Regions from separate parts of the Homo sapiens genome. Here region 1 is linked to region 2. The links are contacts of gene promoters, found by promoter capture Hi-C in human tissues and cell types (Jung and others, 2019). All regions are on one chromosome and are shown on one strand. The core of a region is centred on a gene start or on the middle of the fragment in contact, and the rest is flanking DNA. Distances in the headings are between cores, read along the strand shown.

Region 1 (2,753 bases), core at 45-2,544, 450 kb after region 2:
ATCCCATTACTGGGTATATACCCAAAGGATTATAAATCATGCTGCTATAAAGACACATGCACACGTATGTTTATTGCGGCACTGTTCACAATAGCAAAGACTTGGAACCAACCCAAATGTCCAACAATGATAGACTGGATTAAGAAAATGTGGCACATATACACCATGAAATACTATGCAGCCATAAAAAAGGATGAGTTCATGTCCTTTGTAGGGACATGGATGAAGCTGGAAACCATCATTCTCAGCAAACTATCGCAAGGACAAAAAACCAAACACCGCATGTTCTCACTCATAGGTGGGAATTGAACAATGAGAACAAATGGACACAGGAAGGGGAACATCACACACCAGGGACTGTTGTGGGGTGGGGGGAGGGGGGAGGATTGCATTAGGAGATATACCTAATGTAAATGACGAGTTAATGGGAGCAGCACACCAACATGGCACATGTACACATATGTAACAAACCTGCATGTTGTGCACATGTTATCCTAAAACTTAAAGTATAATAATAATAAATAAATAAATATACATTAAAAAAAGAAAATAAAAGGACACATAGAAAATGTGCTAGGCGATGTCTGTGTGAAGAGGAGCTTCTAGCCTCATGAAGCTGCTCCAAGACACACCTGCTCACCTGATCCAGGAACAGCTCACACCAATTGTAGGTAAAGCCTATGGGGGTTAGGGGGAGATGGGGTGGGCAAACTCACACCTACAAACATCTCTAAAGCAGTGAAGATCCATAAGGCCACATACTGGACTCTGAAAGGCTTACCTGGGTCCAGGTGGGTGAAAGAACCCACCACAAAGTCCAGTGTGGACACGGCCAGCAGGAACAGCAACAGCAGCTGGAGGCGGATTATCCATTTGACACCTGCGAGGTTAATGCCCAGCAAGGCCAGAAGCACCGCAACTGAAATTCCTCGCACAGCCCAGATATTCCCGAGGCCCAGCAAATCCGAGATGGATTCAGCAAAGCCGGTGATATACATGGCACCTGCAACACACTGACATGCGATTCCAGGTAGAAGAGTCAGCAGGACAGAAAGCCATGGGCCCATGGGCAGAACCGCCCAGCGCTGAGAACCCTGCACCCCCATCGGACACACTCACTGGCACCAAGGCACAGTGCCTGGGACCAGTGCAGGGTTAAACCAGCCCTTCCCACCCGTGAACCTGCCTCAGGCCCCATTTCTACTTGTCTACATCTCAACTAAAGAATGAAGGAGGAACCCAAGCTGAGAGCTGGCTGTCAGTGATAACAAAGATGAAAAGACTATGGGAGGAAGAAGATGGGACACTGGGCTAAAGAGGCCTCCGGATTTCTCAGTCCGAGTTATTCAAGAACTAAATATAGAACAAGAACACACAGGGGGTCCCATCTACAGAGCCTTAAAAGGACACTGCAGTAAACCAGATTTTTCTTCATTTCTCTATAGGTCAGTATTATTTTTAAAATTATCTAAAACTTAGCAAAAAAAAAAGTGAGTGGCACGTCTTTTTCAACGTCATATGTGGCAAAGGCTACCCAAGGACTATCTAGGTGAATGTACTTCATTTTACTCACTATTTGCTGTTGATTAAATGCATTATATGCCCCAGATTTAATAAAGTTACATGTTACCTTATGGATTTTTTTCCAGTACAGATGCAAATAACTTCTGTCCAGTGGAACATATAACCCAAAAGATTAGGATTTGTTGTCCTGTAAGACATTAACTGATTTTCTATCTAACCCAGCAATCTTATCCTAACATTTATTTATTCAACTGCCTAGTTATGAATTTACTAATCTGACCTCTGTCCACCCAGCATCCTTTGCAGATGCTCTTTAACATCTTACTGGCTCCTCCATTAATTCATAAATTAAATAAAATCCCTGCTCCAGGTTAGGCTTCCTATGAGTATTTGTTATATAATCTTTTTTTAAAAAAATGAAATGAAATCCTTGGCACATGTTTTTCTTATATTTGCCTGAGAATCATGATTTTATCTTTTGGGAAATATTTGAAAGATCATTTCAAATTAAATTGTTGAAAATAACATCAGTCTCACTTTTCCTAATTCCTCAGCCTCAGCCTTCTTCTCTCCTCAGGTTTGTCCTTCACTGCCCCCAGGGCCAGCTGGTCACTCTAATCACTGTAGCCCTGCCCTTGCCATTCTCTGGGAACAAATTCTATTAGGGCCTCATTCGTTCAAGTCCCTCCTTTTCCATGAGGCCTCTCCTCAACCTCTTTTTCTGAATAAATAGTAAGCTAACTGCTAAGGCCATACAATTAATTATCTGGTTCCATATTCTATTATCATGTCATGAACGTAAGTTTGTCTCCCCACCCCACCACCAAGAATGCAAATATCTTAAAAAATTGTTTATGCTGATTGTACCTCTTCAAATACTTGCATTTGCTAAGTATGTTGCAAGCATTCAATAAATACTTTGTGATATGCTGATCATATAAAAGGTGCTCTGGGAAGCAGGCTCCATGAGTTCCAGCCATTTTGTGTAAAGGCAAAAGGGTAATACAACTTCTGGATTTGAAAGGAGCTTGTGAACAAGGCCCCATTCTTCAATGAGATCAGCTCACTTTGCAACTAGGCACATATCATGTTTGTCAGCATCCCCCAAATTTACACTTAGCTTAACAGTTATTCCAGCATCCCATAGTGGTAAACATTTCTGTCCATATTAGGATGAGGTGGAAAGCCCAAGAAATGTGAGGGAAATACAATCATTTCTGAGAGAGAGA
Region 2 (2,752 bases), core at 168-2,667:
CACTCAGCCAGTAAGTAGAATGGGACTAAAATCCAAATGTTTTGGTTTGAAACTTCATGTTCTTTGTAGTGCACTATACAGCTATGCCTTATCTGTTCCTCTTTTTTAAAAAAGTATTTGTTATAGTTGACACATGATATCGTACACATTTATTGGGTACATAGTGCTATTTCAATACACACAATGTACAGTGATCAAATCAGAGTAATTCATATATTCCTCACCTTAAATATTTATCCTTTCTTTGTGTTGGGAACATTCAAACGCCCCTCTTCTAGCTATTTTAAAATATATAGTAAATTATTATTGACTACAGTCACCCTACAGTGCAATGGAACACTAGGACTTATTCCTCCTATCTAGCTGTAATTTGTGTCCTTTAACCACCCCCTACCCTTCCCAGCCTCTAGTGATTACTATTTTATTCTCTAGCTCCATGAGATCAACTTTTTTAGCTTCTGCATATGAGCGAGAACATTTGGTATTTATCTTCCTGTTCCTGGCTTGTTTCACTAACATAATGTCCTTCAGGTTCATCCACCTTGCTGCAAATGACAAGGTTTCATTCTTTATGTGAATTTAAGGGTTATTTTCCTTAAGCTAGAATAAAGTATTGCCTTATATACACAATGGAGAAGGGATTTATTTGTACAGATTATTTATTGATTATTTCTTTAAGGGATTTATTTGTAAAGACCAAATATGTTTGGATTTTCAGATTGTCTAGCAATATTATCCTCCTGGATAACCCTGATACCAATCAATTAACCGTCTTCTAACTCTCCTCCTTCCCTCCCTTACCTTTTCTACACCTATTACCTAAGCATTTGAGGTACGCCAAAGGAAATAAAAAAGTACTCCTCCAGGAAGCAGAGTACAGACAAAAGAGGTAATGAATACTGTAATGATCTAAGTGCTATATATTCCTATGTGCAAACTGCTATGGAACTGTCACGTACTAGATGCTATGAAGTTAATAAAAGAATTGAGTAAAGGTCCCTGTCTTTGATAACTTATATTCTATTTGGAGAAACATGGGGGGTAAATCTTGGCTAATAACTAGCAAATATAACATGTTAGGCCAAGGAGTAGAGATAATTAAGAGAACTAGTCGAGAAGGCATTGGCTATTAAAAAATGGACAGGATTTATGCAAACTCTCATGAAAGGTGGGACTTCATGATCCTACAGTCAATCTAGCTGTTCTGGGCTTTGAACCCCAGCGACCCCATCCAGAAGAAACCAGGAGAAGCACAAACTGGCGCTAGGTTCGCTACCATCCACCTGACCCTTGAGCCCGGGGAAACCCACGGGTGCAGCAAGCCGGGAAAGCTGCAGACGAGGCAGGCGGAAGAGGCGGGACTTCGCGGGTGACGTCATCGGGGCGCCGGAGGCCCGGGGCGCCTGGGAATTTGAAGCAAACAGGCAGCGCGCGACAATGGCGGTCGCTCGTGCAGCTTTGGGGCCATTGGTGACGGGTCTGTACGACGTGCAGGCTTTCAAGTTTGGGGACTTCGTGCTGAAGAGCGGGCTTTCCTCCCCCATCTACATCGATCTGCGGGGCATCGTGTCTCGACCGCGTCTTCTGAGTCAGGTGCTGGCCTAGGAAGGGAAAGGACAGGGCTTGGTGGCGGGAAGGAGGACAAGGAAATGGAAGAGGGTGACAGGAGTTGGGCCGTGAGTGAGAGCAAAAGAGCCAAGCAGGCAGACCGACCCTACTCTTGGTTTGGGGAGTAAGCATGAGAAGCACAGAGGCCAGGGGTTGGGCTCCTCGAGAGTCGTCTGTTCTTTCACCCACACGCTTAGACACGTGTTTTGCAAAAGTCGGGAAACCCAGTTTGGAACGCTTTCTGGCACTGAAGCACACTTGAATGAATTCTGTATATTTAACTCTTTAAGAAAATTAGACTTGCGGCCGGGCGTGGTGCCTCATGAGAGTAATACCAGCACTTTGGGATGCCTAAGTGGGCAGATCACCTGAGCCCCAGGAGTTCGAGACCAGCCTGGGCAACATGACGAGACCCCGTCTCTACAAAAAATTAGCTGGGTGTGGTGGCGCACGCCTGGGACGCTGAGGTGGGAGGATCACCTGAGCCTGGGAGGTCAAGGCTGCAATGAGCTGTCATTGCGCCACTGCACTCCAGCCTGGGCGACAAGTGAGACCCTGCCCTCAAAAAACAAACAAATAGACCGGGAAAACGTGGGTAGGCAGAGAATTCAGTAGCTGGGAAATTACTGGTGAGAAAAGGAAAATAGAACAACCAGAACTCTGTGATGTATACAAAATTTATCAGAGCCCAGAGAGACTTCAACCATACTCCCCTATGCAGCCCCGGGACAATTATTTAAAGGAATTTTGTCCCTGACTAGCTGCCTCTCCCATTATCTTAATGTACCTGGAATGTGTGATACAAAGAACAATGTATAGCTAATCAATCGCTTGTGTTATTATTTTATTTATTTATTTTTTAGATGGGATCTCTCTTACGTCACCCAGGCTGGAGTGCAGCTCTGTGATCATAGCTCACTGCAGCCTGGAACTCCTGGGCTTAAGAGATCTTCTTGCCTCGGGTGAGCACAGGGGCTCATGCCTGTAGTCCCAACTTTGGGAGGCTTTCTTTGGGAGGCTGAGGCGGGTGGATCACTTAAGGTCTGGAGTTCGAGACCAGCCTGGCCAACATGGTGAAACCCTGTCTCTACTGAAAATGCAAAAATTAGCTGGGCATGGTGGTGCACACCTGTAATCCCAGCTA

The links. Contacts are between HindIII fragments. The study calls those that stand out against the background at their distance.
Region 1: a contact is called between a fragment that was not itself captured here and the fragment with the promoter of UMPS in region 2, in 1 of the 25 tissues and cell types used here (dorsolateral prefrontal cortex).

Annotation. Positions count from the first base shown.
Region 1 is chr3:125,176,962-125,179,714 of GRCh38, forward strand. It overlaps SLC12A8 (solute carrier family 12 member 8), which reads right to left. Exons shown (of 14, transcript NM_024628.6): 5 at 782-1,013. Among named protein-coding and RNA genes, the nearest start is that of MIR5092, 27 kb to the left of the region's middle. The HindIII fragment of the contact is 7,457 bases long and covers 1-2,753 here.
Region 2 is chr3:124,729,035-124,731,786 of GRCh38, forward strand. UMPS (uridine monophosphate synthetase) reads left to right here and starts at 1,418. Exons shown (of 6, transcript NM_000373.4): 1 at 1,418-1,593. The coding sequence starts at 1,438. RefSeq lists enhancers at 1,076-1,675, 1,088-1,497. The HindIII fragment of the contact is 9,650 bases long and covers 1-2,752 here.